2 separate regions of the Homo sapiens genome follow, and region 2 is linked to region 1. The links are contacts of gene promoters, found by promoter capture Hi-C in human tissues and cell types (Jung and others, 2019). All regions are on one chromosome and are shown on one strand. The core of a region is centred on a gene start or on the middle of the fragment in contact, and the rest is flanking DNA. Distances in the headings are between cores, read along the strand shown. Region 1 holds the start of DNLZ (DNL-type zinc finger). Region 2 overlaps COL5A1 (collagen type V alpha 1 chain).

What was found. The method cuts DNA at HindIII sites, captures the fragments that hold promoters and counts their contacts. A contact is called where the count stands out against the background at its distance.
Region 2: a fragment that was not itself captured here is called in contact with the fragment with the promoter of DNLZ in region 1 in 1 of the 25 tissues and cell types used here (dorsolateral prefrontal cortex).

What each region holds. Positions count from the first base shown.
Region 1 is chr9:136,360,135-136,366,261 of GRCh38, reverse strand. DNLZ (DNL-type zinc finger) reads left to right here and starts at 2,518. Exons shown (of 3, transcript NM_001080849.3): 1 at 2,518-2,775; 2 at 3,134-3,273; 3 at 4,082-6,127. The coding sequence starts at 2,548. The coding sequence ends at 4,250. It overlaps CARD9 (caspase recruitment domain family member 9), which reads left to right. Exons shown (of 13, transcript NM_052813.5): 11 at 1,045-1,121; 12 at 1,703-1,779; 13 at 1,861-2,306. The coding sequence ends at 1,960. LOC124902309 (a long non-coding RNA gene) reads right to left here and starts at 2,893. Exons shown (of 2, transcript XR_007061863.1): 1 at 2,810-2,893. RefSeq lists enhancers at 161-1,050, 1,051-1,941 and silencers at 2,153-2,252, 2,283-2,782, 2,883-3,162. The HindIII fragment of the contact is 10,875 bases long and covers 10-6,127 here.
Region 2 is chr9:134,742,439-134,747,769 of GRCh38, reverse strand. All of the region lies in intron 11 of COL5A1 (collagen type V alpha 1 chain), which reads right to left. Among named protein-coding and RNA genes, the nearest start is that of COL5A1-AS1, 92 kb to the right of the region's middle. The HindIII fragment of the contact is 7,573 bases long and covers 1-5,331 here.

The DNA.
Region 1 (6,127 bases), core at 1,269-3,768:
TAGCGGGCAGGGCAGGCCCCCTCTGCCTGTCTGGGGGAAGGACTGGGTGGCTAGCTGGGAGCAGCTCCCGAGTGTCCAGGAGTGGGCAGTGGTGATGAGGTAGGTGTTTGCACTGAAGGTGCTGTCAGGTAGGGGTTGGGGAGGGCCCAGCAGAGGGGTCCTGGGAGGCTGCACCGGAGTTGGACAAGCTTCCTGAGTACCAGGCCGTGGCCTCCAAGCAGAGGCGGAAGGGGAAGGAGGAGCCGCAGACGGGGAAGTGAAGACCAGCGCCTTTGGCTGCAGCTCAGAACACTTGAACATGGGGATGCCAAGCCCCCATGTAGGCACAGAGGCGAGCAGGACCCAGGAGTCCGGCTCAGGCACTGCCCCCATCCCCCTGGGTGGCTGTGGCAGGAGCAGGGGCAGGTGTGAAGGTTGGAGGGTGAGCAGGGGAGGGGCTGGCTCTAAGGGGCTGCCAATGGCCAGGACAGCCCTGGCCTGGCCCTCACCGCAGTGGGGCTGAGACTGGACGTGCGTGGTTTCTGCCCAAGGGTCCTGATCCCTGGTCTGCCCAGGTCCTGGCGGTTTCTGAGGGGGTCCAGCCGCCTGAAGGTTCTCTCCCAATTGCTGCAGTACCCCTGCCCCCACTTCAGGAGGACCCAGACAGCCACTGTAGCTGTCCCCAACTCTCTCCCCAGGGCCGCCATGCCCACAGATGCTTTGGAGTGATGGGGGACGGTGCTGCTCAGGCCCAGGGTTTAAGTTCCCCCGAGGTCTGGGAGGCGTTCCTCCCTGGCAGGCAGCCAGCTCGGGGGAGGGATGGTCACTGGCGGGAGCGTTGGGCCTGGGCTGGCATCTGGCGGCCTCCTGGAGCAATGAACAGGCAAGCGAGGCCATAAGGCCTCAGTCTCATCTACAGAAAGCAGAGTCTACACTGGACCCATGTGGGGATCCCACCAGGCCTTGGAAGACAGCCCCACTGCAATGCCGGGGAGGGGTGGGGCAGCCGTGCTATACGTGGCCCAGCAGATGGGCAGGTCCCACAGGCACGACTCTCCTTTCCAGGCTGCCTTGCCGGCGGGGGGAGCCCGAAACAGCCCTTTGCAGCTCTGCACCAGGAGCAGGTTTTGCGGAACCCCCATGTAAGGCTTCCCCGGGGTGGGGTCCTCCCAGCCGTGGGCCTCAGGGTGACCGATCACAGGGAGAGTGGCTCCCTGCCCTGGGCACCCCCTGCGGTGGCCCCGACGACAGCTGAGGAGTGACCACAAGGTCTCTGCCCACAGTGCTCGGGGTGCGGTGTCTGGGCTGCGAAGTGGATCCCCCTTTCTTGGGCACTGCAGCAGCTTGGGGGGCTTTTTGGACGTGGATGTGCCTGGTCCTGGTTTTCCGAGGGCCTTTACAGTGGATGAGGAGGTGAACACAGGAGTCCTGAGAGCAAGCACCACCTCGGGCTTTGTTGTAGAAACAATGGCCCGGACCCCAGGCTGGAGCCGTGGCTTGGCCTCCTGGGTGTGTCTTGGCATCTGAAATGCAGGCTACCCACACCGGCTCACCTCCAGGGGTACAGGCAGGTCCCACAGGGAGAGCTTGGCGCTGAGCTGAGGCTGTCTGGGCTCCTCGCCTCCCAACCAGTCTGCAGTTACAGGGGCCAGTGGGGGGCGGGTGAGAAGGACGGGTTCCCTCAGGGGAGCCGGCCGGAGCCCGAGCCTTCCCCCTTCTCCAGGACGCAGGCCTGAGCAGCGGGGAGCCGCCCGAGAAGGAGCGGCGGCGCCTCAAAGAGAGTTTTGAGAACTACCGCAGGTAGGCGGGCGGCCCCCAGGCTTCTCCAAAACGGGCTGGGGAGCGGCAGCCGGGTCGCGCCTGAGACACCTGTCTTCACAGGAAGCGCGCCCTCAGGAAGATGCAGAAAGGATGGCGGCAGGGGGAGGAGGACCGGGAGAACACCACGGGCAGCGACAACACCGACACTGAGGGCTCCTAGCCGCAGCAGCGCAGGCCCCGACCAGGGCACACCCACCGGCCCGGCCTCCTGCCACCCGGGGGTGCCGACGCCCTGGGGCGCAGACTTCCCCGAGCCGTCGCTGACTTGGCCTGGAACGAGGAATCTGGTGCCCTGAAAGGCCCAGCCGGACTGCCGGGCATTGGGGCCGTTTGTTAAGCGGCACTCATTTTGCGGAGGCCATGCGGGTGCTCACCACCCCCATGCACACGCCATCTGTGTAACTTCAGGATCTGTTCTGTTTCACCATGTAACACACAATACATGCATGCATTGTATTAGTGTTAGAAAACACAGCTGCGTAAATAAACAGCACGGGTGACCCGCATTCCCGCTCGGACACTCGCGCGCAGCCCCGCGGCCGTCCCTCCTCGCTGCGGCCCGCGGTGTCCTCGGGGTGCGAGCTGCACGTGGACGCAGGGCCCCCTCAGGCCGCCAGGGGGCGGCATAGCGCAGCGCGCCCCCGACCCGGAAGACGGAAGCCCAAGAACGCCGCTTCCGCCCGGCGCCCACTTCCAAGATGGCGGCGGGGCGGGGCCGGGGCAGGGCGGACGGAGCCGGCGAGCGGGATGCTGCGGACTGCGCTGCGCGGCGCGCCGAGGTTGCTGAGTCGCGTGCAGCCCCGGGCGCCCTGCCTGAGGCGGCTGTGGGGCCGCGGGGCCCGTCCAGAGGTCGCGGGGAGGCGGCGGGCCTGGGCCTGGGGCTGGCGGCGCTCAAGCTCCGAGCAGGGGCCGGGGCCCGCGGCGGCTCTGGGGCGCGTGGAGGCGGCGCACTACCAGCTCGTCTACACCTGCAAGGTAGGCGCGCGGCGGGACGGAACCGGGGACAGACCCGTATCTGACGCTACACGGCCTGCGGGGAGAAGCGGCCCGCCGGGGATCCGGGAGGCGGCGTGGTCAAGTCACAGGAAGGAGTGGAGCCACCCCTTGGGGCTTCTGGGAGGGAGCGGAGGCGGACCATGAGGAGGGGTGGAGCCGTCCCTGGGGCGGGGCCTTCCCGGGAGAGGGCGAGGTTGGGGGTGGGTGGAGCTATCCCTCGGGGGCGGGGCCTTCTCTGGAGAGGGTGAGGTGGCTGGAGCTACCCCTAGAGGGGCGGGTCTTCCCGGGAGGGGCGTGGCGGCCCTCACAGCCTCACCAGCTACCCTGTCCCAGCCAGGTCTGCGGGACTAGGTCCTCCAAGCGCATCTCCAAGCTGGCCTATCACCAAGGCGTGGTCATTGTGACCTGCCCCGGCTGCCAGAACCACCATATCATCGCTGACAACCTGGGCTGGTTCTCGGACCTGAATGGGAAGAGGTGAGGCCTGTACCCCAGGGCTGGGCCAGAAGGCCACCCAGAAGTACCCTGGCCTCCCTGGGGGAACCTTGCCCTAGTGTTGAGGTTTATAGATCTCACCTGGGAAATCCAGCCACCTTATCAATACAAGACACACAGTTAAATGAGAATTTCCTATAAAGCCCAGATAGCTTTTGAGTTTAAGTATGCCCCAAGTAGGGGGTGCGTTTTTATTTGTTAAATTTTGCCAGCCCTGTGGCCCTGCCTCCCTGCCTCTGCCTGCCCTCTGCCATCACTGGCAGCCTTGTCCCTCTCTAGCGTGGAACTTTTTTGCCCTCTGCCATCTTGGGGTGGCTGGCCCACAGCAAGGCTTGGGGTGTGGACCAGGAGGTGTGGCCTGGGCCCTGGCTGCTGGGAGAGCAGTGGAGGTGGTGCCGGGAGCCTGGTCCGGGCCTTGCCTGGCCGGGAGGTCCTGGGCAGGACAGTAACAGCGACAGCAGGTCTGAGACCAGCATGCCAGGTGCTTGGTGGTACCTGGCCCTTGGAGCTGGGACTGTCCTCCCATCAGACCCGGGGCTGCAGATTCTTCCCTCTGGCACATAGGGGGCAGGAGCAGGAGACTGGGTTCCTGAGGCGGCGCATACCGGCAGAGACACAGGGCTGGTGAGGGCACACAGGCCAGCGTCTGAAGTGCCCGTGTGGCCTGATGCCACAGGAGTGCTGGGCCTGGTGCTTGCAGCTCTGGCCTGGCCATGGGGCGCCCTGAGGGGACTGAAGTGCAGGGCGGCTGGGGGGCCCTGAAGAGCCATGTTGCCTCCCTGCCCCCCAGAAATATCGAAGAGATCCTGACGGCCAGAGGCGAGCAGGTGCACCGTGTGGCGGGCGAGGGGGCCCTGGAACTGGTTCTGGAGGCTGCAGGGGCCCCCACATCCACTGCAGCTCCGGAAGCGGGTGAGGATGAGGGTCCCCCCAGCCCTGGCAAGACGGAGCCGAGCTGACTCCTGCGCTCCCCGGCACTGTGGGACTTCGGCCTTCCAGAAGGAGGTTTTGGCCCTGGGCCTCTCTGGACGTGGCCTGTTTTCTATCAATAAACAGACATTACTTCCAGATGCTGGGGCCTGTGGCCCTCGTGGCCTTTCTTTTTCTGGAGTTAGAACGATTGCTCTGAATCCCTGGTGCTGCTGGGTGGGACATAGGAGCCGCAGGACCTCTCGCCTCACCACAGTTCCTTCTACACAGAGTCACCCAGCTCTTGCCCACAGAGGCCACAGTCGCGTGGAAAGGGGGCTGGATGTGGCGTCAGAGCCCTTCCTGGCTGTCGCTGCGTGACTTTGAGCAGGTCACCACCCCTGTGAGCCTCAGCCTTCCTCTGCAAGGCCCTTGCCGCCCCCCTGGCCAGCTCTGGCGGCCTCCCTTCCGTGAGCCAGTGCAGACCTGAGCCCTGGTCCTCGGCCGCCGGCCGTCGGCGAAACAGTGAGCAAACCAGGCTGCCTGCTGGCCCAGGCAGGACGAGCAGCTATGGCGTGGCCGTGTGTTAGGAGCTCCAGACCCCTCCCGGGGGAGCCACCTGGGCCTCCTTCCCTCGGTGGACAGCGCTCTGGACGTCCCCAGGGCCCTCCGAGGTGTGTGGGGTTTGTCTCCCAGCCTTGTCTGTGCGCAGGATGTTCCCGTGTTTATGAAAGCGAGCAAACACAGCAGCCTGTTTATTTGCAGAAGCGTTCTGGGCAGCGTAACCTTCAGCATTCATCACCCGCCACACTCCGGCAGGGAAGAGAATGGGGCGAGGTGGGAGGTGGAGGCAGGACTGAGCACGACAGGGACCCAGTGCGGCCCCTCCCAGCGGGACACGGCCAGGACTGCCAGCTCACATCCGGCCCGTGGGAGGCCGGGGCGCGGCGGCATCGTTCCCAGTGTGCTTGTGGCGTGGGCTTTGCCTCGATTACCCCCTGTCCTTCTTTCAGCCAACAACCCTCTATTATTCCCACCCAGAGCCTTCTGTGCCATTTGTGGAAACTGTCCTCTTCTCGGCTGAGCCACCGGCACCCAGGCCTGCTCCTCCATGGAGGCACTGGCTGGGGGTCTCTTGGGGGCTTGGAAGTGCAGTGGGGCTGGGCTTGGCTTGGCTGCCTCACTGCCTCCAGAGGGCCTGGACCAGCATGTGGGGAGGTCCAGGGAGCCGTCTGGACCTGGAAGTGCAGAATTAGAGCAAGGAGAGCCGCTTGGGCCAACCCCTCCTCTTACGGATGGGGAGATGGCGGCTGGTAGTTGGGATGTGGACGTTACCATGTCTTTTCTGTCTGATGCCAGCACCTCTGGGCCCAGGCTGGCCCTGGAGGGAAATCCTTCCCAAGGCTGGCACGTTCCTAGAGAAGACCTATGGCTACCCCCCGCGTGCCAGAAGCATCCCGCCAGCTCCTGCCTGAGGCCCCCTGGACCCTGTCTCCCTCCGCCCTTCCCTCCCCGCAGCCCCAATCCCACAGCCAGGTTTCTGCAAGGGGCTTTGCCATCCTAATCTCCTGCCACTCTACACCCCCCCGCCCCAGGACATCCCTGCCTCCCGGGCACGGTTGCTGGCCTGGGCATCCCTCGTCACAGCGTCTCTCCAAGCAGGTTCCTCGGCCGCACCTTCAGAGGCTGTCCCAGCCAGTAGCGTGGGCGGCACTGCTGCGCTTCCCTGGCTGTGCGCGGTCCTGGGCCCTGCACGGTTACTTGGACCCTGTGTGCGTGTACCACCACACGCAAGCTGGCTGGGACCCTGGACCTGGAGTACACGTTGATTCTGGTTCCCAAGGCCCCTTCTGGGGTGGAGGAGGCAACGGAGTCAACCAGCACAGAGGCTGTGGCTGCCAACATGGCCAGGTGGGCTGTGGCGAGG
Region 2 (5,331 bases), core at 1,004-3,503, 1.6 Mb after region 1:
CATGTATGAATGCATGTGTGCATGTGTTTGCATGTGTGCATGTGTCTGCATGTGTGTATGAATGCATGTGTGCATGTGTTTGCATGTGTGTATGAATACATGTGTGCATGTGTCTGCATGTGTATGAATGCATGTGTGCATGTATCTGCATGTGTGTGAATGTGCGTGTGAATGCATGTGTGTATGAATGCATGTGTGTGAATACATGTATGCATGCATATGCAGGTGTGTGTGGATGTGTGAACGTCCATATGAATGTGTACGTGTGTGCATGTGTGTGAATGCATGTGTGTATGCATGTGTACGTTTGTGTGGGAATGCATGTGTGTGCATGTGTGTCTGTGCATGCATGCTCCTGCTCACATGGTGTTGCTGTAGGAAGCCAGGAAGTCTCCTCAAGGCCACTCCTTGTCCACTGCTGTCCATTTCCAAAGACCCTCTTTTCAGCATCCTTCCTGCCTGTTCTAAGCCACGGTGGTGAAAATCCAATCCCCAGGCTGTGAAAGCAACTTCCCTCTGATGCCGCTTCTCACCGACACCCGGAACAATTCCAAAGAATGGGAACGTAGATGAACAAGGATAACGTGAAGTCCTAGAAGAAGGAGACAGTGTGGAGAAGAAAGGAAAGAATGTCGCCACCCCCATGAACCCTTCCGAAGTGTTCAAATTTGACACAAGTCCTCAGGGCCACCAACATGAACCTGCATTTGCTATCACTTAGAAACATTGTCAGCAAGCCTTTGCCAAGCCCTGTGGTCTCTAACGTAAAGACTTTGACCCCTGGGCTGAAAGACACGGCTACACCTCAAAGTCACATTTCCAATTTTCATGACACAAAGCACGGGCCAGCGATGTGGCTGTTGTCTGCGACAAGGCAGGTGTCAGACACCAAGGGAACGCTCCAGCAGGCCCACACACAGGTCATGCGGATGCTGCTTGGCTCCAGCCACAGGCAAAATATGGCAAAATAAGAAATCCCACCTTGCCTTTGCTATTTGCATGTATTTTCCTGTTACTCCATTAGCTGGCCCCCAAATCAGTGCCCTAACTTGGTCAAACAGCAATGTTCTGAAGGCCCTGGCACAGGAGGGCTCTCAGTGTCATACCTATACCAGGTGAAGAAATCAGGTGCCTACTTCCAAATGAAGGCACCACTGGTATCTAACAGGGTTTCTTTCCTGAGGACGTCCAGACGTCCTTTGCACAGAGACGATGTGGCTGGGTGACCAGATGCCTCACAAAGTGGCTCCCTCTGCCACTGCAGATTCAGCACGTGAAACTGTCCCCACGAGACCCTCGGCTCAACCTCAGGGGAGAGGCACAAGGCCTCTTTCCAGGCCGGGATTTGGGTCAAAGCAGTGAGCAGAGAACTCTGAGCCTTTTCTCTTCATGGTGGTGGCAGGTTTGGGAGGAGCTGTAGGCCTGCAGGAGGCTTTGTGTTGAAAAGCTCCCTTCCACTCTCGGAAAGAGCTGGAGCAGGAGGGCAGTGTGCAGGCGTCTCTCCAGAACCTTTGTGTGCATGTGGTTCTGTCCAGGCCCGACCCTGGGCAGGCCCAGCTCGGGAGTGGCTGGGAGAAGCTCTCAGTGGTCACTTCCTGCTGGACATCTCCTGGCTGTGCAGAACACGTACGTGCATGACCACGCGCGGTGGGCTGAAGGGTCTCTCATCAAAGGTACATCCAGGTCCTGAAACACGTGACTGTGCCCTTACTTGGGGTCTTTGAGGATGGGAGTGAGGATCTTGAGATGAGATCTTGGGTCCTAAATCCAATGATGAGTCCTTGTAAGGGAAGAGGAGGGGAGGCAGTGACAGAGACACAGGGGAGGGCTGGGTGAAGACAGAGGCAGAGACTGCAGAGATGCGCCGGCAAGCTACAAGGGCAGAGGACGGCCAGTGGCCACCAGGAGCCAGAAGAGGTGAGGAAGACCCTCACCTGGAGCCTCCAGAGGGGGTGCGGCCCTGCCTACACCTTGATTTCAGATTTCTGGCCTCCAGAACTAAGAGAGAAGACATTCCTGTTGCTTTAAACCCCAAGTTGGTCATCAATTGTCCGAGGATCCCAAAGAAATGAACCCACCATTCGTTCGTTCATTGAGAGGGTTCCTACTGAGCCCCTTCCAAGAGCTAGACAGACACTCTTCCAGGAGCCCTAGGGCCCATCTAAAAGACTGGAAGCGGGGCCCTATCAAGAAGCCTGATGCCTCAGACCGCACCCCTCAACCAGAACTAACAACCAGAAAATCCACAGGAGGGGCTCTTTATCCATAGGCCACCAATAATCGGGGCTCTGGGTAAGACCTGCGGCCTTAAGGGGCCCACGTGAGAAAGACTCCTGGACTCACCCAGCCATTGCCACTAACTGACCGTGATGAACACCCTGGCAGACCCTGCATGGGGTCCTACAGCATAGTGCACTTGGCGCCATTCATGCAGCTCCTGCCAGCTGTCCCTTCACTCTAGAAATGTCCCGAGGCCTTTGCTCCCTTCACCTCTCTCTCCACAAACTGTACTTGATTTTCTTTTCCATATGATAATGTATACCCTCCAATGAATCTTCAACACTGAGCTCGCTTTGGGAGACACACACTGCCTCCAGGGCTACAGCAGAGAAACCCACAGTTCCCACTGATCTCCTGGTATGGCACCTGAGGCTTGGACAGATTCCTATCAGTGGCCTCAGGGGACTAAGCTTTGAAGATAAATGTGACTCGAAATGGCCAGAAGTCATTCACGACCAGGCTGCTGGGGATTCGGGCACACAAGCCTGCAGACCAGCCTCCATGGAAGGGCCGTGTGGAGGTGAACCCAGACAGCGCACGCGTGCATGTAGATGTGTGTGCACGTGCACGCCTGGGTGTGTGCATATGTGCATGAGTGTGTGTGCAGGTGTGTGAGTGCATGTGTGTAAATGTGTGTGCATGTGTATGGATGAGTGTGCATGCATGCATGAGTGTGCGAATGTGTGTACATGTGTGGGTGTATGTGTGTGCATGTATGAGTGAGCATGTGCATGAATGTGTGTGCAGGTGTGTGAGTGCATGTGTGTGTAACTGTGTGAGAGCATGTATGGGTGTGTGCATGCATGTGTGAATGTGTGTGCATGTGTGTGAGCGTACCTGTGTGCATGTCTGGGTGAGTGTGTGCATGAGTGTGTGTGCAGGTGTGGGTGAGTGTGCATGTGTAAGTGTGTGTGCATGCATGTATATGTGGATGTGTGTGCATGTGTGGGTGTGAGTGTGCATGTATGGGGGTGTGCATGAGTGTGTGCAGGTGTGGGTGACTGTGCATGCATACGTGTATGTATAGGTGAGTGTGTGCGTGTACACATGAGTGTGTGCGTGTGTGGGTGTGTACATGTGTGCATATACGGTTGAGTGTGTGCATGTATGCATGTGTGGGCATGTATGCATGAGTGCGTGCACGTAGGCATGAGTGTGTGTGCATGAGTGCATGTGAATGTGAGTGCATGTGTGGGTGAGTGTGCAAGCGTGTGTGCTTGAGTGTGTGTGTGAACCTCTCTGAGCAGCTCTGCCAAGATGTCCTGAACACTTCTAAAGACAAGGAGAGACTGGATTGGCGTGTCCCATCCACAGGAGCCTGGGAGCCAGGAAAGCAAATGAATCCCATGCTGCTTGCTTCTTCCCCACAGCTTTTCTCGAAGCTAACTCCTTCGGAGTCAGACAGCAGCTGCGTGCTCGTGAGTGGACTTGCTCACTCTGTCAAGTTGCCAGTGATCTAGCCTGTGTCCTCTCCCACCCTGGGTGTAGCACCAGCAGGCCATGGGGAGGGGATGGCATAGCAGGGCATCACCCCAAGGCTGGTCCTGGGGAGACCACACCAGAACCTGTTAGGTAGAGGTGAGCCACACTTTCTGGCTGGGAGGTAGTGACTGCTGTTTTTCAGGGCATGGCTTACATACGAAACTTTTCAAGGCACAGAAAATGCACTCACGCAAAATCCCATGGGGAAGGCTAATCCTGGACACATAAAAAAGAGGGGGAGAAGGTTTGAGCCCCTGCTGAGTGACAGGAGGGGCTGATAAGACAGCGCCGGGCAGCATCATTATTGCCAGGCTGCTTCTGCACATAATGGGGTCATTGAAGGGTGGGGGCCTCCTCCCAAGGCATCAAATGCATCCCACTGTGCAGGGAGCGAGGTGCCCCTGTGTGGCAATTTGGAGAAAGCTTGGGAAACTGCCTCCACTCTGACCCTGAGGCGGCTGGGAAAGAAACCTGCATACTGAATCCCTGGGGCTTCCCAGAGGAGGATCCAGGCCCCCCAGCAGGTGGGACCTGCCCACAGACCCAGAAGCAGATCGCTACTTTACCCAAAAGTAATAAATATGCTGTAGGTGGAAAGATCTGTGTGAAGTCTCTCTTAAGAGCAATAGATGAGTGGCTGGTCAACACCAGCTGGCGCTCTCGGGAGTCAATTAGACGGTAAGCAAGCTTATTTCTAGATGAAAACGTTAAACTCTCCAGTGGACTGCGGAGATTCAGGAGGAGTTTGGCCACAGCATCCTGAAAAATGCAATCAAATCCACAGTAACACTGGACGGTATTCAGGAGCTGCCTTAAAACACAGGAGTGCCTGGGGTGCAAGGCTTTTGGAGAGGCACACGGGGAAGGGAAAGGAAGGGACTCGCCTCAAAGACGCTCTGATCACAGGGAACATTTCTTAGGCACAAATATCCGTGGACACCAGCTCTGGGGCACACACGCGAATGGATGTAGGGGGCGCTCACAAGCAGCACAGAGGTGGCGCCTGCCTTCCGGGTGTTTCTATCGAGGCTAGCAGGTGTGGGCCCTGGAAGTCCATGGAAGGCGGGACTCACTGGGGCCTGAATCTTTACTGATGGTCCCCAGCCCTCTCCTTCCCCCACCTGCCCGAGGAGCCCAGGGAAGGGCTTCGCTGGGCAAACACTGCTCAGCGACCCACAGGGGCACGGCACTGCCACCATGGCATCATAGGGAACCTTCACAAATGCACAGCCTCATGATTTCAGACCCACTGATATCTCACTATATTCCCGGATGCGCAAAAGAGTCAGCCCCTACAGAAACGCACTGGCAGGTGGCACAGAAGCCAGACCCACAAGAAACCCAGGCCAGAGAGGGGCTGAGTAACGGCCACCTGGCCTGCAGCTCACTTGGGGACTCCCAGCTCTCTTGGGTTTCCTCTGAACCTCAAAGTAAGAGTGGCCACCTTCCTTCTGCCACAGGAGATCTGAGTTCAACCCCAGGTCTACCTCTATCTCCCTGCGGGCACATTGCCCCAGCTGTGCACCTGCTCACCAGTCACCTGAGGGAAACTGGATGGGATGATGGTTC